Regions from separate parts of the Homo sapiens genome. Here all the other regions are linked to region 6. Evidence: promoter capture Hi-C in 16 types of primary human blood cells and fetal thymus (Javierre and others, 2016). All regions are on one chromosome and are shown on one strand. Each heading gives the region's core, a stretch centred on a gene start or on the middle of the fragment in contact. The rest is flanking DNA. Distances are from core to core; before and after follow the strand shown.

Evidence for each region. Contacts are between HindIII fragments. The CHiCAGO score rates a contact against its expected background, and 5 or more counts as called.
Region 1: a contact is called between a fragment that was not itself captured here and the fragment with the promoter of SNHG4 in region 6, in 1 of 17 cell types (M1 macrophages). The highest score is 5.4, in M1 macrophages.
Region 2: a contact is called between a fragment that was not itself captured here and the fragment with the promoter of SNHG4 in region 6, in 3 of 17 cell types (megakaryocytes, M0 macrophages and erythroblasts). The highest score is 7.2, in megakaryocytes.
Region 3: a contact is called between a fragment that was not itself captured here and the fragment with the promoter of SNHG4 in region 6, in 3 of 17 cell types (endothelial precursors, activated CD4 T cells and M0 macrophages). The highest score is 12.2, in endothelial precursors.
Region 4: a contact is called between a fragment that was not itself captured here and the fragment with the promoter of SNHG4 in region 6, in 1 of 17 cell types (erythroblasts). The highest score is 5.2, in erythroblasts.
Region 5: a fragment that was not itself captured here is called in contact with the fragment with the promoter of SNHG4 in region 6 in 7 of 17 cell types (erythroblasts, endothelial precursors, megakaryocytes and 4 more); the score reaches 10.4 in erythroblasts.
Region 7: a fragment that was not itself captured here is called in contact with the fragment with the promoter of SNHG4 in region 6 in 4 of 17 cell types (endothelial precursors, M0 macrophages, M2 macrophages and 1 more); the score reaches 8.9 in endothelial precursors.

The regions. Positions count from the first base shown.
Region 1 is chr5:138,658,956-138,661,675 of GRCh38, forward strand. No RefSeq gene overlaps it. Among named protein-coding and RNA genes, the nearest start is that of HSPA9, 85 kb to the left of the region's middle. The HindIII fragment of the contact is 6,224 bases long and covers 1-2,720 here.
Region 2 is chr5:138,605,225-138,608,180 of GRCh38, forward strand. No RefSeq gene overlaps it. Among named protein-coding and RNA genes, the nearest start is that of HSPA9, 31 kb to the left of the region's middle. The HindIII fragment of the contact is 989 bases long and covers 969-1,957 here.
Region 3 is chr5:138,643,046-138,646,224 of GRCh38, forward strand. No RefSeq gene overlaps it. Among named protein-coding and RNA genes, the nearest start is that of HSPA9, 69 kb to the left of the region's middle. The HindIII fragment of the contact is 3,641 bases long and covers 1-3,112 here.
Region 4 is chr5:138,715,892-138,718,648 of GRCh38, forward strand. No RefSeq gene overlaps it. Among named protein-coding and RNA genes, the nearest start is that of CTNNA1, 36 kb to the right of the region's middle. The HindIII fragment of the contact is 4,843 bases long and covers 1-2,757 here.
Region 5 is chr5:138,588,850-138,591,778 of GRCh38, forward strand. No RefSeq gene overlaps it. Among named protein-coding and RNA genes, the nearest start is that of HSPA9, 15 kb to the left of the region's middle. The HindIII fragment of the contact is 3,000 bases long and covers 107-2,929 here.
Region 6 is chr5:139,272,814-139,275,995 of GRCh38, forward strand. SNHG4 (small nucleolar RNA host gene 4) reads left to right here and starts at 1,288. Exons shown (of 7, transcript NR_182757.1): 1 at 1,288-1,348; 2 at 1,551-1,801. LOC124901081 (a long non-coding RNA gene) reads right to left here. Exons shown (of 4, transcript XR_007058956.1): 4 at 254-841. It also overlaps a transcript of MATR3 not described here. RefSeq lists an enhancer at 642-991 and a silencer at 1,282-1,361. The HindIII fragment of the contact is 4,492 bases long and covers 1-3,182 here.
Region 7 is chr5:138,625,727-138,628,769 of GRCh38, forward strand. No RefSeq gene overlaps it. Among named protein-coding and RNA genes, the nearest start is that of HSPA9, 52 kb to the left of the region's middle. The HindIII fragment of the contact is 4,392 bases long and covers 1-3,043 here.

The sequences.
Region 1 (2,720 bases), core at 184-2,683, 610 kb before region 6:
CCCCATCCTCCTCCCTCGGTCACCTGCCCTGAGAAAAAGCATTTGGTGTTTCCAAATTGACTGAAATAAGAAATGTGTGGTGGCAGCAGCCTTCTCTCACTCAGCCTTCATTTGCCCAAGGCAGAGAGATTTTAATTTTCGAGCCATAATGAGAAAAAGAAACTCAGGATTAAAGAATATTCCAGTGAAGCAGTCAAAATAGCTGCCCAGACTCTGAATCAAGCCGAGAAATATAAATTAAAAACTCCATCTCCCTCTAGCATCAGCTGGGCTTGAAGATGCCAGGCTGAGTGGCTGGCAAGGGTTCTTGCAACCCAGGTCCTGGGGTCAGCTGGCGGGCAGGCCCCACCCCAGGGTGCTGATGGGACAGGGAACCAGAGACGCACCCACCCACTCACAGGAGAGATTTACCTCCACCAAGGCTGGCTCCCCCAAGCTACAAGCCTCCTGAGTCAGGTCAGGCCCTGAATGTTGAGCTCAGGAAGTGGGGGGTGACTCCCTGGCCCCCACTGTTTAGTCTCCTAAGGCACAGAGATGCTGCTGTCTGCTCTTGTTTGCTCTTCTCCCAAATGCTGGCTCACATGCTGCAAACCTCTTTTTGTTTCCCCGAACTCAGGCCAGTGGTCCTGGGAGTGGGAAGGAGCTGCCTGAGAAGGGGGGCACCTGAGCCTTCAGCCCGGATTCTTCTGAGCTTCAGTCTGTTCCCAAGGGAATGCCCTTCCAAATGCACTTGCACTCAGGATGGTGGGAATGACAAGGAGCCCTGAGAAAGGTGTGTGAGCCCCAGGGCCAGGCCATACCGTTCCCTGCCCACTTGAAGCCTCACATCCCATGGCTCCCCAAAACTGAACATCTCTTGCCCCACCCAGCCCTACTATCTTCTTGATTGCCTTTGACCATCTCCTTTCTCCTTCTCCTTTTCTCATCTACTTATCCAAGAAATATTGACTGTGTGGCCTACTGTGTGCCAGGATCTGTGCAGGGTTTAGTGGCTACAGAAATAAACCAAACCCAATTCCTGTTGACAGGCAGAAAAGAAAGACAGGTGGCCTGAGGATTATAATATAGCACAGAACACACTGGGCAGTGGAGTTGGGTGGGTGACCAAAAACTCTGGAGTCAGACTGATCTGGTTCAAGAACTGTCTCCATCTCCTACTTCTTACAGTAAGACCTCAGGCAAATTGTCTAGCCTTGATAAGATGCAGTTTATTCATCTGTAAATTGGGGATGATAATGCTTTATAGGATTGCTGTGAAGATGAAATGACATAATCTTGGTAAACTAGTTGGAACAGTGGCCAGCATATGGCAAACACTCGTTAAAGGCCAGTTGGTATTATTGTAAGTGTCTTAATGACAACACTGACATTCATTACTCTGTATTGGGTGCTCACTCTGAGCCAGCCAGGGTGCCATGCCTACAGCAGTGACTCAACTGTGGTCCTTGTCCTGAAGAGTTCACAATCTATTAGAGGTGACAGATATGTAAACGGATGACTGAAAAAGTGCAATCACTGCCATTATCACTCGAAAAACCGTCATTTTTTGAGCCCTGATCATGTGCCAAGTACAATGCAAAGTTTTAAAGATACATTACCTTTAACTCCTTGCTAACCCTGTGAGGGATCTATCATCTCCATTTTACAGAGGTCCCATAATCATTAGTAACTTGTTCAAGATCAGGCCATTTGCAGAATGAAGTATTGACTCAAAGGAGAGCAATTAGCTAGACCTGAAAAGGGATCAGATCTGAGAAGGCTTCAAAGAAGAGGTGATCCTGTTTTTTTACAGACAGGGTCTTGCTCTGTCACCCAGGCTGGAGTGCAATGGCAAGATCATGGCTCACTGCAGCCTCAGACTCCTGGGCTCAAGTGATTCTCCCAAGTAGCCGAGACTATAGGCATGTGCCACTGTGCCTGACTAATATTTAAATTTTTGTAGAGAGAGTGTCTCACTTTGTTGCCCAGGCTGGTCTGGAACTCCTGGGCTCAAGCAATTCTCCCGCTTCTGCCTCCCGAAGTGCTGGGATTACAGGCAGGAACCACCACATCTGGCCAAACCGGTGATCTTTGATCAGGATTTTGAAGAATGAGTAGTTTTCCAGAAGCCAAGACTGGGGAGGAATGGCATAGCACCACACTTCTGTGGGCCTGCGGGAGCACTGGAGCTTCAAGCAGCATCCACAGGAGTTCCCAGGCCTAGAGGTCCTTATGTCCCTAACAGCCATTCGGTCGTGTGCCTCAACACCACATTATAGCCTAAATCAAAGGAGGGTGATTATTTTAGACAGATTCTAGTCAACAGCTTGAACCCGGAGGATTTCAGCTGAATCATGGAGCTGAAATAACTGCATGGAGTTGAAGTCCCTCATCCCCCCTGTCCAGGTGCCCAGCAAGTCAGGGGGTGTGGGTTGGGCTCCCTAGGAAGCTGGGAGGCCACAGACTGGGCTGGAGTCAGGGAGACAGTCTCAGTGACCTTGGGAACACTCCACCAGATTTGGGGCAGAAAAAAATGAAATCTGTTCCTGCATTTCAGTCCTTTCGCTTCCGCTTTCTGCCTGTTCACTCCCCTCATTTCCTGCCCACAGTCACAGGGGAGGCGGCCATCTTGGCGCAGTGGCAGGTCTGGAGGCTGGAGCCAGGATGTGGCGCTGGAATCCATCTATCTGGCTGGTTCCACACCCAGGGAAACCTGGACTCATCATCATTAGCATTCTGTT
Region 2 (2,956 bases), core at 213-2,712, 670 kb before region 6:
AGAACTCATTTTTATTTTTTGCAACATGCCTACTAATCTACAATGGACTACAGGACTGCTGGTTTGGGAAATGCTCTCCTAGACTTACCCTCCACCCCACACCACTCAGCACCAGGGCAGCTAGGACTTCTGCAGAGCACCAAGTGTTTGGTGGCCAGTCAGCTCAGATGGCAACCACAGGCTGGTAATTAACCAGGGTCAGGCAGCAGCTGCCGTCCCCGGGCTGATGAAGAAGCCATCCAATAGAGTTGGGTGGTTTATTTCTTGCTTTCATTTCCCTCTGTCACTGCTCTTGTCTAGACCCTTTACAGATCAAGTCTGCACTGTCACAACAGTTTCCTGACAAGTGTCCCTGCCAGCTGGTTCTTCCCTCCAGTCCACCCTACACACCTGGCCAGATCTGTCTTCCTAACATGAGGCTTGGAGCTTGCCACTCTCCTGTCCCAAATGCATCAATTCAGCTTTCAGGACTGTCTTGGTTCCTTTTTCCCCCTGCACACCCTATACTGTGGATGCAGCTGAATCATTTCAGGCCCCTCTGTGCTCTGCACATTCTGCTTCCTCTGGCCAGTGCTTGAAGAGCTCCTTCCTGCCTCAGGAAGGGAGGGAGTTTCTTTCCCAACATTATCTAAGCAAAGAACTCCTTTTTATTTTTTGCAACATTCCCACTAATCTACAATGGACTACAGGACTGCTGGTTTGGGAAATGCTCTCCTGTCACAGTCCTGTGTTCTCACTCAGTCACTTACCTATTCAATAAGCATTTATTTTGTGCCTATGTGCCAGGTCCTGGGCTAGAATAATACACACTCCTTAACCTAAAGAAACTAATAAAAACAGATACATCTACAATGGAGTGATGTGTATTATGATAGAGTGATACTCAGGGTTTCGCAGGCAGGGACACTATCTCTGCCTAGGTCACAAAAGGCAAGTCAGGGCAGGCTTCCTGGAGAAGGGGATGTTGAAGCTTAAAGGACGAAATGGTGTTAGGCATTTGAAGGCATATGGTATGCCAGGAACTGTCCAAAGATGTGTTGGGTACCTGGATCTTTGCAATAGGCTAAGCAGGCAGGTTCTCCCCAACCTCTCTGTCCTCAGGGAGAATCTCAGGCTAATTCTGCTGACCTGCAGAAGCCAGGTGAGGGGACAACACTTGTTGTCATCAGGAGGTGGGGTCTAGGGGCTGAAAGGTGGAAAGGGGGACAATGCCTCACATGCTCCCTGCATCCTGTGGTTCAGGGACCAATCCTCCTCCTCCCCAACTCCCAAGTCTCCTCTAAGAGATACAGACATTCAAGCAGTTTGGTTGCCAGGGGCAACCCTAGAAGGCAGCTTTATTCCAAAGGCAGGCACTGAAGCCCCTACCCGGGGGCCTCATAGCCTGGCTCTGATAGACAAGGGGTAGGTGGTTCAATTCGGCCAGTCCCCTTTGGGAGGTGACAGGACAGAGTCTGAGTAGCGCATGTGGAAGATAACCCTTCCAGCCACTCAGCAGGGCCCTGAGAAAAGAAAGGTGACCCACAAAACAGTAGATGGCATTTTAATCCACACGAATACTTAATATGAGTAACATAACCTTGTTTTTTCTGAGACGCAGCCTAATTTATTTCAGGCCTCAGGCTTAGTAACTAACCGCTGACAACCTGCAGGTCTGGTGCATGTGTGTGTAGGTCTGCAGTGTTAATGAGACTGTAGAGGTGGTGAATTTCTCTTGTTCACAATTTTCCTGCTCTGTTGAGGCTGTCCACCAGTAAGTTGCTCCTTTTCCTGAGCTAGGACTTGTGATCTGGGAATATGAAGACTACCTAGAAGGCAGAGGGTACAGGCTCCTCTTGAGAGAGCATGCCTGGTGCAAATGACAGGCAGTTGGGTTTACCAACGCTCCCTGCTTCTTTCTCTCATTCCTGTTATTCTGCCTGCTTACATTGCCCTCTGCTCTCCCCACAATGAGAGAAGCTTGTGCTATGTGGAGTCAGAACACCTGGGTTTGTTTCTGCTCTGTGACTTGGATGATGTATTTAATCATCTTGAGCCTCAGTGTTTTTACCTGTGAAATGGAAACAGTAGCACCTGCCATACCCAATCACAGGGTTATTGCAAATATCAAATGAGATAATTGATGAGAAAGTGTTTTGTAAACCAAGTAATGAGGAGGAGGAGGAGGAGAAAGTTGTTGAGTGGTTACTGTGCTAATTGCTCTTCTCTTTATTTATGTTATCTCTTTCTTTTCTCTTCTTTTCTCCTTTTTTTTTTTTTTTTTTTTTTTTTGAGACAGAGCCTCACTCTGTCTCCTGGAGTGCAGTGGCATGATCTCGGCTCACTGCAGCCTCCACCTCCCAGGTTCCAGCAATTCTTCTGCTTCAACCTCCCAAGTAGCTGGGATTACAGGTGTGTGCCACCACACCCGGCCTATTTTTGTATTTTTAGTAGAGACGGGGTTTCACCATGTTAGCCAGGCTGGTCTCGAACCCTTGACCTCAGGTGATCCACCCGCCTTAGCTTCCCAAAGTGCTGGGATTACAGGAGTGAGCCACCATGCCCGGCTGAGCCTTATTTATGTATTTAAGACAGAGTCTTGCTCTGTCTCCCAGGCTGGAGTACAGTAGCACCATCTCAGCTCACTGCAACCCCTGCCTCCTGGGTTCAAGTGATTCTCATGCCTTAGCCTCCCGGGTAGCTGGGATTATAGGCATGCGCCACCACACCTGGCTAATTTTTTAATTTTTAGTAGAGACAGCGTTTCACCATGTTGGCCAGGCTGGTCTCAAACTCCTGATCTCGTGATCCGCCTGCGTCAGCCTCCCAAAGTGGTAGGATTACAGGCGTGAGCCACCATGCCTGGCCTATACAGCCTTTAAGAGCAGAATCTTCCTGCTTTCTAATTTCTTCCAGTTTATGTCAAATCACTGTCCTCTGGCCCAGCGTGTCCCAAACACATGAGCCTCCTTTATCA
Region 3 (3,179 bases), core at 42-2,541, 630 kb before region 6:
CTTCAGAACTTTTTCCCAGGTTAATCTGTGTTGCTATTGCCCATGACCTGCTCACCACCTTCTTCATCATGAAAAAAAAAATGGCTTTCTCTCTTTCTCCCAGATCTCACAGTCCTCTGTGACTCTTCCTGGCCCCATCAGATGGGGATGGGCTGAGCCTAGAGTACTGAGCTGGTCGGCAGGGTGCAGCACATTCCTTACCTGGAGCTGACACTGTTAGGACTTTCTTCCCAGTTGTCTTCTTCGGGCTTCCTCCTCCCCACCCTGTCACCCCAAAGCCTCCCACACTTGGGAGTTTCTCCTTCCAGTAACAGGGCCTGCATGAGCACTGGCTTAGGGGGATGGGGTGGGGGGTACGATGCCTGTATCAGGTTACACAGCCCCAAAAGAAAAGGCTGGCTTTTTGGCTTCTAGCACCTCCAAATTCTCTCTGTCCAAAGGATGAGGAGCAGTCCTGGGTGTGGTGGCTGGTGTGGAGGATGGGACCTCTGGGCTGCCAACAAAGGCATTGCCAGCAGAGCTGAGGGCACAGGCCAAGTCTGGAGTCTGTGGACTTGTACTTGGGACATGCCCAAGTCATCCCTATGTCTACACCCTTCCATCTGACCAAGTCATCTGTTCCCCCAGAGCAAACTTGCCAACCCAAGACCACATGTGGCCCAGGACAGCTTTGAATGCAGCCCGATGCAAATTCATAAATTTTCTTAAAACATGATTTTTTTGCGATTTTTTTTTTTCTCACAGCTATCAGTGTTAGTGGGTTTTTTTGTTTTTTGGGGCGGGGTGGGGATGAAGTCTTGTTCTATTGCTCAGGCTAGAGTGCAGTGGCATGATCTTGGCTCACTGCAACCTCCCCGCCTCCCAGTTCAAGTGATCCTCGTCTCTCAACCTCCCGAGTAGCTGGGATTACAGGCTCGTGCCACCATGTCGGCTAATTTTTGTATTTTTGTAGAGACAGGGTTTCGCCATGTTGGCCAGGCTGGCCTTGAACATCTGACCTCAGGTGATCCACCTGCCTCAGCCTCCCAAAATGTTGGGATTACAGGCATGAGCCACTGCTCCTGGCCCATGTTAGTGTATTTTATGTGTGGCCCAACACAGTTCTTCTTCCAATGTAGCCCAGGGAAACCAAAAGATTAGACACCCCTGCCCTAGAGCCTGGCTCTGTAGAAACTCTCAGGACTTCAGGGGTCTACCTCATCCCACAGGGCCACAGGGTTGCCTTGGGGGTGGTGTGGGGTTGCCCTACCCTTTTAAAATGCCCTAAGGGTCCTGACAGCTACGGGTGGATACCCAGCCTCAGCTCCAGCCCAGCCCTACTGAGGCATTAACTCTGGAGCTCTCTAGGGCAGTAGGGGGTAGGGAAGAGGCCTTCTCTGATTGAAAATCTGAAGAGAAGAAAATTGCGTGGGCCTGTAGCCTTTTCTTTGCGTCTCTCAGCTCTTTCACCAAGGACGTTTTCCCTGAGGTTTCCTCTAAATTCTCCCAGCTGCAGATCACGGCACACACTGCAGACCCCTGAGACACCCACCTGTGAAACCAGTGTGGGAATGGACCAGTGAGGTGCACATCTGTGGGAAGGGCCAAGGATGAGGAAACTGTATCTGTTCAAAGCCCATCGCAAATCAGCTTCTTCATCCCTCTCAAAGGTCAAAAGCATGACAGGGCCCAGAGGAGTGTTGGTATTTTCAGAGGAGAAGGCAGTGAGGATTTGGGAGCAGTCCACCCTCCTCAGCCACATCTCAGATCTCCTTGCTGAAATAAGGCCTCAGCTGGACCAACAGAAGACAGGGAACTTAGGCACCTGGAAGAGGTGCAGACCTTATCCATCCTCCTGTGTGTCCCCCCACCCCAAGCCTGATACCAGGCCCTCTGTATAGGGGCAAAACTTTTTCCATTCTAAACGAACATTTACTCCTTTTCTCCAGGACACTGGGCATTAGCTGGACATCGGCCTGTTCAGGGGACCTCAGGCTTGAGACAGAAATGAGGAAGCACAGAGATCAAAGCCTCCTTCCCAGACAGGAGTGACTTTGAAGTTCACTGGCATTGCAATTAGGAATGACTTCCGCAGAGGGCAGGGATGGAGGAAAAAAAAAAGGAAAAAGGAATGGCTTCCCTGACTACAGCTCCAGAAACCTCGTTTTCATAGCCCCTACTACTTAGGGAACTGGGAGTTTGGGCCAGTTTGGTGGTGGCTCCCCAGTAGGTAATCTGAAGGCCTGGGGTGGGGGTAAGGAGGGGAGTATAGGGATCACTCCTATTAATTGACACTTCCCATGGCTAAGGTGCTGTTCAAGGCATTTTACGTGTTTTGTCTCATGAAATCTGCAAACTACTCATTGAATTAGGTCTAATCATGATTTCTATCTTACAGACAAGTAAACAGAGGCACACGCAATGATAATAAAAATCAGAATAGTAATAATAATGATAACATTTTAACAGCTTTTTAAAAAAATTTTTTAATTAAAAAGAGATGAGGTCTCACTATGTTGCCCAGGCTGATCTCAAACTCCAGGCCTCAAGCGATCCTCCCACCTTGGCCTCCCAATATGCTGGGATTATAGGTCTGAGCCACCATGCCCAGCCTTTAACAGCTTTTTTTTTCTTTTTTATTTAATTTATTATTATTTTTTAAATCAGGCAGGCTCCCAAGCCAGAGTAGGCTCAGAGAGACTCCCAAACCGCTTTAAAAAAAAAAAAAAATTGACACAGTGCCAGTCTTGGTGCAAGCACATGATGTATATGGTACTATTAAATCCTAAGAATTCATCATATTATCCCGATTTTCAGCTAAAGAAACAATCTGAGCAAGAAGTGACTTCACCAAGGTCATGGAGTCTTAGAAAATGACCAAGCCAGGAGCCAAACACTCTTCTCTCCAATTCCAACCAATCAGCAGCCTGTGCTGCTGATTCCTTGGCAAGATTGCCTCCCAAGGGGACCATGGTAGAGCAAGCAGTGGTGATGGAGGAGGGTCCCGTTGGCCTTTGAAAGCAGGAGAACCCTTGCCCGTGGGCTGGGCCAGGAGCTGCAGCATCTGGCATGCTGGGAAATTGTGGAGGAGCCCTCCTTTGCCCCCACTCCATCCCCACCTGACAGGGAAGGAAGCTTTGATGCTGTTTTCTCGCCCACAGGGGACTGGGGTTTGTAAAACAAACTCACAGCCTGCAGGA
Region 4 (2,757 bases), core at 157-2,656, 560 kb before region 6:
AATTTGCTTCCCTATGGAATTGAACAAAGCTGCTCCTAGTGGCTTTGGTCCAGAACCTTCTTCGATATGCTGCCCAATGTCTCCTCTGGTTTTGACCTGGATTCTCCACTGTTTGCTCAGATTCCTTCATGGCTTTTTCTCCCTTGCATTAATTCTAAGCACCTGCTTGTTATTAAAGTAAAATCCTCTCTTTGCCTAGTCCCTGTGATCTGAAAAAGCATCTGTAAATAGAAGGTATGCCCCCTATGACACAGCACTATTGGCATTTTGCTCTTTTTTTTTTTTTTTTTTTTGTGACGGAGTTTCACTCTTGTTGCCCAGGCTGGAGTACAATGGCGCAATCTCAGCTCACCGCAGCCTCCACCTCCCAGGTTCCAGCGATTTTCCTGCCTCAGTTTACCAAGTAGCTGGGAATACAGGTGCCCACCACCACGTCTGGCTAATTTTTTGTATTTTTTTTAGTAGAGACAGGGTTTCCCCACGTTGGGCAGCCTGGTCTCAAACTCCTGACCTCAGGTGATCCGCCAGCCTCAGCCTCCCAAGGTGCTGGGATTACAGGCGTGAGCTACCACCCCCTGCCTGGCATTTTGCTCTTCAAGGGTTAATAATGGTCAGGGCTGTACCTTTAGAAAACTCAGCCAGCAGGGCTCACCAGAAATAATTGCAATAGCAGGGACGCAGGGAGGTGGGGCTGAGAGGATGTGGGGTGGGTATTGAAGAAGGCCTGCAGAGCAGGACAGTGAGCCTCTGTAGGGAGAATGGTATATTCCAGGGGGAAAAAATGACGGGCCATTGGAAACCCCTGGCCATGAGAGGTAGCAGCGGTTTGGCTTCAACCTGGCCCCTTTCCAAGACCACATTCTTATTGCTGATCCCTTGCTGGTCAGCAAGAGCCCCTGAGAGGACTTGCTGTGATAATTTGGTGCCAGATCATGCTTCAGTTGCAATTTATTTAAAGTTGACAATAGGGTTCCTGTCTTTTACAAGCAGATTCCCTGCCCTTGAATGTCTGCAGGCTGGATTTTTTGCCTTGATGAAAAGGTAGTTAAATTTCACACTTATTATAGCACCTGGCACCTGACATCTTCCAGAGACTTTATAAAGACTAATGAAATGAAACCCTCAGCGCTATTGTAAACAGGGAAGAAGAGAGAGCAGACTCATATCCTCTCTCTGCAGGAAACAAAGAACTAAACCTGCCTCATCTCCACCCCACCAGTGGACCCATTTTTTTTAGGCTAATCTTCAAAGGGCTACTGACTGGTTATCAGACAGGTCATGGCTCAGAGCATCTTTGGAGAGCAGGATCTGCCTGAAAAATGGGTCAATAAGGCACCAGCATACAGGTCTGCGCTGCTGGAGATGAGGCCTCCAGACCCAGAGATTCTGTTCCAGCTTTTTTCACTCAGCATCAGACATCAACCAGTCAGGGAAGCTGGACCGATCTTTGCCAATGTCCCCAGGAATTGAAGTGTGTGAGCGTGTCTGCCCTGTGATGAGAAGGTGAGTGCAGAATTTGGGGTATGGTTTAAATGAGGAAAAGTACAACAGTATGATTCCCTCCCCCAACCCAGTTAGTCCCTTCACCCCATCCTTTATTGTGTCTGTAGTGGGAAAGATGGAGTTTACAGTCAAACAGACCTGCGTGCAAATTGTCCTGTCACTTGCCTTAAAACTTAATTTCTCCAAGTCTCAGTTTCCACATCTGTACAATGGGAATAATAATACTGCTATGATTACCTATGGTTGTGCAACAATCTCAAACTTAGTGGCATTAGGGGAAAAAAAAAAATGGGCTGGGTGCAGTGGCTCACGCCCATAATCTCCACACCTTGGGAGGCCAAGGCGGGAGGATTGCTTGAGGCCAGGAGTTCAAGACCAGCCTGGGCAATATGGGGAGACCCTGTCTCTACAAAAAATAAAAAAATTTAAAAAATTTATCGTGCTCACAGATTCTATGGGTCAGTAATTTGGACGCGGTACAATGGCAATTCCTGAAGCCCCTGGTTCATGATGTCTGGGGCTTTAGCTGGCATACCTGAGAGGGTGGGTGTCTTTAATGGCTGGAATTAACTGGAGGCTTTTTCATTTGCATGTCTGGTGCTTGGGCTAGGATGACTTGAAACTGGGCTCAACTGGGACTGCCAACCAAAGCATTTCTATATGGCCTCTGCACACAGCTGGGGCTTCCTCAAAGCATGGTAACCTTTGGGACTTCTTACATGGTGACTTCAGGTTCCAAGAGTGAGTGTCACAGCCAACAAGGCAGGAACTTCATGGCCTTTTATACCCTGGCCTTGGGAGTCACATGTCATCATTTCCACCATCCTCTATAGGCAAAGATGTCACCAACCTGTACAGATTCAAGGAAAGAGGACATAGAATTGGCCCCCACTTCTTGATGAGAGAAGGGTCAAAAAATTTGAAGCCATGTTTTATTTTTATGTATTTATTTATTTTTGAGACAGCTCTGTCACCAAGGCTGGAGTGTAGTGGCGTGATCTCGGCTCACTGCAACCTCCGCCTCCTGGGTTCAAGTGATTCTCCTGCTTCAACCTCCTGAGTAGCTGGGATTACAGGTGCCTACCACCATGCCCAGCTAATTTTTCGTATTTTTAGTAGAGATGGGGTTTCACCATGTTGGCCAGGCTGGTCTCGAACTCCTGACATCAAGTGATCTGCCCACCTTGGACTCCCAAAGTGCTGGGATTACAGGCGTGAGCCACCATGCCTGGCCTGAAGCCATATTTTAAAACT
Region 5 (2,929 bases), core at 357-2,856, 680 kb before region 6:
GAAGTATCACATTTATTTATATTCTTAAATAAAGGTAAACTCCAATTACATGCTCTGATCCCATCTGACTGTTGGGAAAGTTAATCTAGCTTATTTCTTGTCTTCAAGCTTGCGTTATGGTTCCAAGATCTTATATTTTGGATGAGATTGGAGGGAGCTTTGAGTTGTCCCATCATTTGTACCATCACTTGAGGCCCAGGTACTGACAGCCTGCTCTTCATCCTTGCCTCATCCTCTGGCCTGGGGTCCTATCTCCTAGATATACCATGAGGCCAGGCCTCTCTAGGGTCTTGCTCCCTTCTTAGGTGCTGTCATGCCAGGGATCAAGGCCTGGGTTCCCTTGTTCCAGGACCTACAAACATTCTCATTCCTGACCCCAAAGCATCTCTTTCTAGTCTGCTTGAAGTACCTTCCTGCATCATGCTGCTCTGAGGCCAATTTCCTTAAGTTCTAGGCTCTGTCTTGTTCTTCTACAGTGGTCTTTGATGGTCTTTTTATTTTTTACTTTTATTTTTATTTATTTTTGAGAGACAGTGTCTCACTCTATCACCCAGGCTGGAGTGCGGTAGCATGATCACAGTTCACTGCAGCCTTAACCTCCTGGGCTCAGGTGATCCCCCTGCCTCAGCCTGCCAAGTAGTTAGGATTACAGGCATGTACTACAATGGTTGGCTAATTAAAAAAACTTTTTGTAGGCTGGGTGCGGTGGTTCACACCTGTAATCCCAGCACTTTGGGAGGCGGAGGCAGGCAGATCACTTGAGGCCAGGAGTTTGAGACCAGCCTGGCCAACATGGCGAAACCCCGTCTCTACTAAAAATACAAAAAAAAAAAAAAAAAAAAAAAGCTGGATGTGACAGCGCCATGCCTGTAGTGCCAGCTACTTGGGAGGCTGAGGCAGGGGAATCGCTTGAACCTGGGAGGCGGAGGCTGCAGTGAGCAGAGATTGCACCACTACACTCCAGCCTTGGCGACAGAGTGAGGCCCTGTCTCAGAAAATTCTTTTTTTTTTTTTTTTTTGTAGAGACAGGGACTCACTCTGTCTGTCACCCAGGCTGGTCTCCAACTCCTGGGCTCAAGTGATCCTCCTGCCTTGGCCTGCCAAAGTGCTGGGATTATAGGTGTGGGCCACTGCACCTGGCCTTTTGATGGCCTTTTAAATCCCAAACCCATGTCACTGCAGCCATGTATTGGTTATGGTTTACCTTTTGGTGCATGTTTCTACTTTCCTCATTTAGATTTGTGAACCTTCTCGGGGCAGAGACTACCACTTTCTTGTATCCTGAGTCACCACAGGGCTTTTCATAGTGTGGGGGGCACTTATTAAATATTGATTAATTATGATAATGACGAGGACACAGGACTGTTTGTGAGCACACACAGCCCTGCCACACAGTGAGAATCAGGAAGATGAAGGGAAGAAGGGGCCAGGTTCATTATTGTCATATAATCATGAATATTTCACTGGTTTGTATCACCAAGGAGTAGCCTGTTTGTCCTGCTGCCAGCACAGGAGGAAGCATTTGCCCTGATAATGATGAACAAATTTCCTTGATCGAGTCCATGGGCCAGAGCTCCTCTGGGTGCTGGTCAGGCTGGCTTTGCCCTTCTTTGGCTTCTTCACAGGCTGTCTTGCCCGGCTCTCAACAATAGATTTCTCTGTCACGAATACAAACTAGCCAGGCCCTCTTGAACAAATCAACCTCCCCGACACCTGCTCAGAGCAATTAGCCTTCCAATGTGCTATGGTTAATAAACACGAATGGTTGTTATCTGCTTTTCCTTGGCTGGTCCTATGAGTGTCCTCACACAAATAGGCAGTTTGACCAGAGACCAGCTCCAACTCATACTTGGGTCAGAGAAATGGAACCCGGAACCCTCCTGCCTCAGCCTTCGGGGCTTCATGGATACTCCCTTACCTCAGCCTGCTGTGACCTCATGCCAGCCCCTCTCTGGCCTCCATTTGGATTCATCTGGTGATAAAAAATGAGCAGAGGAGATACCAGTATCATCTGGGTGGTGGGACTAGATGACCTTTAAATCCTGTGACTGCCCATCCTGCAAGTCTTTGATTCTATACTTTCCACTTGCTTGGTTTTTTTTGGAGACGGAGTCTCACTCTGTGGCCCATGCTGGAGTGCAGTGGTGCGATCTTGGCTTGCTGCAACCTCTGCTTCCCGGGTTCAAGCAATTCTCCTGTCTCAGCCTCCAGAGTAGCTGGGACTACAGGAGCTGGCCACCACGCCCATCTAATTTTTGTATTTTTAGTAGAGACAGGGTTTCGCCATGTTGGCCAGGCTGGTCTCGAATTCCTGACCTCAGGTGTTCTGCCCACCTCAGCCTCCCAAAGTGCTGAGATTACAGGCATGAGCCACTGCTCCTGGCCCACTTGCTTGTTCTTAATCAACATTTAAAATCCCCCAAAGGCCGGGAGCGGTGGCTCATGCCTGTAATCCCAGCACTTCAGGAGGCTGAGGAGGGCAGATCACCTGAGGTCAGGAGTTCGAGCCTGGCCAACATGGTAAAACCCCATCTCTACTAAAAATACAAAAATTAGCCGGGCGCGGTGGCACTCGCCTGTAATCTCAGCTACGTGGGAGGCTGAGGTAGGAGAATCGCTTAAACCTGGGAGGCGGAGGTTGCAGTGAGCCGAGATGGTGCCATTGCACTCCAGCCTGGGTGACAAGAGTGAAACTCTGTCTCAAAAAAAAAAAAACAAAAAAAAACCCAGAGTTGGGTGTGGTGGTGCACACCTGTAGTGCTGAGAAGAGGATCACTGGAGCCCAGGAGTTCAAGGCTGTAGTGTGCAATGATGGTGTGCCTGTGAATAGCCACCACACTCCAGCCTGGGTGACATAGTGAGATCCATTCTCTTAAAAAAGAAAAAAATCTCCCAGCTTCCTGCTGGTCCCTTCAACCTCCTTATATCG
Region 6 (3,182 bases), core at 38-2,537:
AACACGCTGTGACAGCCGGATGTGGGCATTGATTATGGCAGCAGTCTTCAGCCACATTCCTATTTAACTGCAAAGCAGAGCTCCTGCCTACCAGCCCAGCACTGGTCATGTGACTTTTTAAATTACTGTATTTATGTAAGCCTTTTCCCAACCAGAGCCTATGTCCAACTGCATCAAAACTGGGGAGGATTTGAGCTTGCCACTTCCCCTCCAGTGGCTCTTTGGCCCTACAGCCTAGGGTCTCTTGCTGGAATCAAACTGGGGCTCTGGGCTTTCTTAGGAGAGGTCTGCAAGAGTTGGGGTGCACAAGAAGCATACCTTTTTCATTATGAAAGAGCTGAGGAAATAGACAATGAAACATGTTGGCAGATGCCAAGGGCAGTGGCTTGGTTCCCAGGGGTTCACCTGGCAATGGTGCCAGGTGCAAGAGATCAGCAAAACTTACAGGATTGGTTGTTGTTGTTGGGGGGCGGGTGTCGGAAAGGAATTTGGGGGAATTAGAGAATGGAGTTGGGAATCACTGCTTGTAGGCCTTCCACTCTGGACCCCAGCAGAATCATATGGACTCTAGCCACTGGGAGAGGGAAGTTTTAGTGTTCCAAAGAAATCCTGGTAGCCTTGCAGGCAGTCTGTCCTGACCAAGGACTCTGCCTGACTGTGCCATGGTGCAGGGCAAGTCTAGCAGAGAAAGCCAGTGTTCTTCAGTTACTGCAGCTCGGCGAAGAATCCCACTGCAGGGCACTAGGGAGGCCGGTCCTGCAGAGGTCAGCAGTAGGAGTGACTGGCTTAATCTATTCGAAAACCTCCTGGAAAGATCCCGAAGACCGTGGACCAAGGTGACCTGCGTGGGTGAGCGATCCATTAGCCGAATGACAGCGCTGCCGCAGAAAGCCAGAAAAAGGATATGCGTGGGAAGCGCAAAAGCGTGGGCTGGGCCTGCAGCAACGGAAAGGCGCCACGCTCGTGAGCGGAACCAGCGTTCCGGGGGCGCTCAGTGTGGGCAGGCAGGAAGCCTGGCTCCACTAGGACACACAGATTCTCTCCTGAGCAGCTGCGAACTATGCGCCCCTTCTACCCTTAAGAGATGGGATGGGAGTCCAACAAACCCAGCCATTGCTCAGACCCCAGCCCTTCTCTCCTCTAAGAAGCAGGTTCACCTCTGCCACCGCACTCGCATTTTTTTTTTTTTTTAAAGCCCGGCCTTTCCTAGGCGGGGTCAAGGGCCCCGCCCACCGAAGCCACGCCCAGTAGCCGCCCCGGGGCGGGGTTCCCCTCGGCTCCCGGCTGCCCTTTCCCCTCCGGCCTCTGCCGGTGCTGCTGCGCCCTGCGGAGCTCCGAACACGTGCGCGTGAGTAAGGACCCAGAGGGGAGAGTCCTTGGAGGTTTCCCAGCCTGGGGAAAGAAGCAGTGCAGGGTGGCTTCTGCCGGGGCACGGGACGAAATTGGGGTTCGTCCCCTCGTGATCCCGAGCTTGGAGGGCATCTGAAAGAGACTTGGGCCTCGGAGTCGTCCCCTGTTTTTCTACCATCCCTCTTCCCTCTTCTCCCTAGGGAGTCCCATAGAGCCTGACTCCGAGAGCCTCGATCTCCCAGGGCCAGAGGCAGGGACTTTGGAAGGTTTGTGAGGAACAAATGTCCGGTGGAACTGAGTCAGCCCCTTTAACCCGAGCCTTGAAAGGGGCAGGCTATTTTTAGATCTGTTTTTAGACCCAGCGAACAATGAACCCTCTCTACTCATTTTCCTGTTCCTCTAAATTATTTGGAGGAAGTCAGGAGTGAAATTTGGGGATGGCTGGAAAAAGGTATGATCTTAGCCTTACATAAATTATAATGGTGACTGTGAGGCCGGGCGCGTGGCTCACGCCTGTAATCTCAGCACTTTGGGAGGCCGAGGCGGGCGGATGACGAGGTCAAGAGAAGAAGACCATCCTGGCCAACATGGTGAAACCCCGTCTCTACTAAAAATACAAAACTTAGCTGGGCGTGGTGTCGCACGCCTGAAGTCGGGAGGCTGAGGCAGGAGAATCGCTTGAACCCGGGAGGCAGAGATTGCAGTGAGCCGAGATAGCACCACTGCATTCCAACCTGGTAACAGAGCAAGACTCCGTCTAAAAAAAAATGGTGACTGTGTAGGAATATTTATTATCATTTGTGCAAACATTTTGGTTATTTTTATTTTTTTTAACGGAGTCTTGCTCTGTTGCCCAGGCTGGAGTGCAGTAGGGCGATCTCGGCTCACTGCAACCTCCGCCTCCTGGGTTCATGCCATTCTCCTGCCTCAGCATCCCGAGTAACAGGGACTACAGGTGCCCGCCACCACGCCCGGCTAATTTTTTTTTTTTTTTTTTTTTTTTTTTTGTATTTTTAGTAGAGACGGGGTTTCACCGTGTTAGCCAGTATGGTCTCGATCTCCTGAACTCGTGATCCGCCAGCCTCAGCCTCCCAAAGTGCTGGGATTACAGGCGTGAGCCACCGCGCCCGGCCTAACATTTTCGTTATTGCTTTTAATCAGTAGTTGAGGTCTTGGCACGACTACTGCCTCCAATTCCCCTCACATCCAATACTGCAGTTATTTTTCCAAGTGCTGTTTTTATTGTCCTTCAGGAAGTATTGGAGGCCCTCCTCTATCCAGTGTTCCCACTGTTCACTGCCCGTTTCTCTCACTGGATAACTTTTCCCTTTTTACTCACTCATATTCACCATCTAAGCCTTTTTTGGAATGTAGCTCCTCAGGTGTTTACTGAGTGCCCACACTATACCAGACATTATCCTGAGGATTAGCTTATATTTCACTTAAGCCTCCCAACCACCCTATTTACAGAGGACTATTAGTAATATCCCCATTCAGCTTGGTGTGCTCGCTCACGCCTGTAGTCCCAGCTACTCAGGAGGCTGAGGTAGGAGAATCACTTGAGCCCAGGAAGTGGAGGCTGCAGTGAGCCATGATTGTGCCACTGCACTCCAGCCTGGGTGGCAGAGAAAGACCCTGTAATATAATACCTCCATTCTACAAATGAGACTGAGGTATAGAGAGGTTTCTCGCCCAGTATCATTTGGCTAGACACTGGTTAGGGGATAGAGCCAGGCTCCCTGATATTTGTTTAATCGACTCTTTTGCTACTATTGAACTGCTGTGGTGTATAAGTAACAAGAGATGAAAACAAAGCTAAACAAGGATAAGCT
Region 7 (3,043 bases), core at 32-2,531, 650 kb before region 6:
ATATTTTTTAAAAAGTACCCAAGGATTGAGATTTAGTAGAAATTAATAATCTTTACCATTTGATGAAGAACATTCCTAAGTAAACGTGAAATTTTTTTAGTGCATGTGCATGGCAGTGAAGTGTACTATGAATACTAGCACAGGTTAGCACAACTGCTTCGATTTGTTTTGAGGTGCAGTCTGTTTTACCCACCATTGCTTTTGCACCATCAGTGCAAATGTCAACACAATGAAAAAGGCAAATCGTATCTTACACTATTATGAAAATAGTTTTAGCAGGGCACACTGGGTCACGCCTGTAAATCCCAGCACTTTGGGAGGCCGAGGTGGGAGGATGATGACTTGAGCCTGGGAGTTTAAGAACAGCCTGGGCAACATGGCAAAACTTATCTCTACAAAAAATACAAAAATTAGTTGGGTATGGTGGTGCACACCTGTGGTTCCAGGTACTCAGGAGACTGAGGTAGGAGGATCACTTGAGCCTGGGGAGGCAGAGGTTGCAGTGAGCCAAGATCGCACCACTGCACTCCAGTCTGGGCAGCAGGAGGGAAAGCCTGTCAGAAAAAAACAAAAAACAAAAACAGAAAAGGAAAGAAAATAGTTTTAACTTCACAGACCCTTGAGAGGGTCTTGGGGGCCCCCTCAGGGTTGCATGGAGCACACTTTCAGATCCACTGCCCTAAATGACGTGTCTGAGTTCCTGAGAGTTGGTCCTAGGCCTCTTTTCTTCTCACTCTACTCTCTCCTTAAGTGAGCTCATCTACTGCCTTTGAACTACCTCTGAGAAAATGACCCACACATTTGTCATCTCCAGCCGTGACCTCTCCCTGGAGCTCCAGACTGTGTATCCAGCTGCCGGCTCAATTTTGGCAGTTGGGTGTCCCAAAGGCAATATGTCTAAGACTTTACTTCTGGTCTTCCATCCATTTATATAAGCCCAAATCCTTATTGTCACCATGTTCCTCCTCACCCCGTATCTAATCAATCATTAAGTCCTGTAAATGCTGTTATTTCCTCTTCCTTTCTCTCTCTTTCTCTCTCTCTCTTCCTTCCTCTTTTGCTTCCTTCCTTCCTTTCTTTTCTTTCTTTCTTTCCTTTTTTCTTTCCTCCCTTCCTTCTCTCTCTTTCTCTCTTTCTTTCTTTTGAGACAGAGTCTCACTCTGTCACTCAGGCACAATCTTGGCTCACTGCAATGTCCCGGGTTCAAGGGATTCTTCTGTCTTAGCCTCCTGAGTAGCTGGAATTACAGGTGTGCACCACCATGCCCAGCTAATTTTTGTATTTTTAGTAGAGACGGGGTTTCACCATGTTGGCCAGGCTGGTCTCGAACTCCTGACCTCAAGTGATCTGCCCACCCCAGCCTCCCAAAGTGCTAGGATTACAGGCGTGAGCCACTGCACCCGGCCAATGCTGTTATTTCCTTAATATCTCTTTAATCCATAACTTCTGTCTCTACCACCATCACCACTACCAAAGCAAGATACCATTACCTCTTGCTGCATTACCACAACAGGCCTCCTTCAATCTGTTCTCCTCATTATAACCAGAGCAATCTTTTCAAAATGCAAATCTGATTATGCCAAAACCTTGTTTAAACCCTTCAACAACCTCCTATTGCTCTCAAAATAAAGGTCCAAATCTTTAACATGGTCTGTTTCCCCAGTCTAGGTCAGATTCTTAAAGTTCTCATAGAATCATGCCCCCTTCTTTCATAATAGTCATCGTCGTTTGTATTTGTATATTCATTAGTAGGATTATTTGATTATTATCTCTCTCTGATGAGACTATAAGTTCTGTGAAAGCAGAGACAACCACATAGTAGACATTTTATAAATATTTGCTGAGTCAATGATTCAATGAGGCCTAGGACAACTCCTTTGAGCATGGAGTAACCACTGAGAAATAATTCTTCTGCCCTCGGCCCTCGAGTTGGAGAAGACCTATTTTCATTCTTATCGTCTCATAGCATTTCAAAGAAAAATGCTGCTTTGTCCAGGCATTCCATCATAGTGTCTTCCTAAGCATGAGGCACATTTATCTTCCTTTTGACATAGGCGCCCTCTTTGCTCCCCATCACTCATCCTGCCAGTGGTTCTTGAAGTGGGTTAGCAATACTGGTTCTTCAGGATTATAAGAGAGGGGACTGGGGCTGGGCGTGGTGGCTCACGCCTTAATCCTAGCACTTTGGGAGGATCATGCTGGAGAATCGCTTGAACCCGGGAGGCAGAGGTTGCAGTGAGCCAAGATCGTGCCATTGCACTCCAGCCTGGGTGACAGAGGGAGAATCTGTCTCAAAAAAAAAGAGAGAGAGAGAAAGAGAGAGGGGACTCTTTCTCTCCTACTAGGTGGTTGGCTAGGAGGCCCATTTCTGCAATAGAGAACAAAATGTATTAAGAGAGAACAAAGGAAGAACAAAGGGAACAAGAGAGAACAAAATAAGGCCTTTCCTATAGAAGGGAAGGGAAGGGAAACCAATGTTTATCAAGCAACTACTGTGTGCCAGGCACTTTGAGACTTTTGTTGTCCCCTTTCATCTTTTTTTGGAGTTCCAGTGGGCTTTTAATCTTTACAACAACCCTATGAGGTAGGAGTTATGGTCCCATTTGTATAGATGAGAAAACAACGGGCCCAGAGAGGTTAAGTAACTTGCCTAAAGATACACAATATAGTGTATTAGTCCTGTTTACCTACCTACCCTAAGACCCCTTCTAAGGGACTTTGTACTGGCAAAGATTTTGCAGCAGGCCATATTACATACCATATGACATCATCCCTACCCCAGTAGTTTATATCACTACTTACCTACCCCTGCCTCTTCTGCCCTAGGTGATTAGACCACAGGGAGGTTCTAACCTTAGCCATGTTGGTCCATGGGCTAGCCAGTCACCTCTGACTTATTGCCTGGTACAGAAAGACAACTGGCCAATAGGATTCCCTCTTAGTAACCTCAACCTGAAGCAGAGTTCCCCAGCAGGGAGCACAGACTGGGAGAGATGCAGACACACCCAGTGTGGCAGAATCACATTGAGGGTGGGCAGAGCCT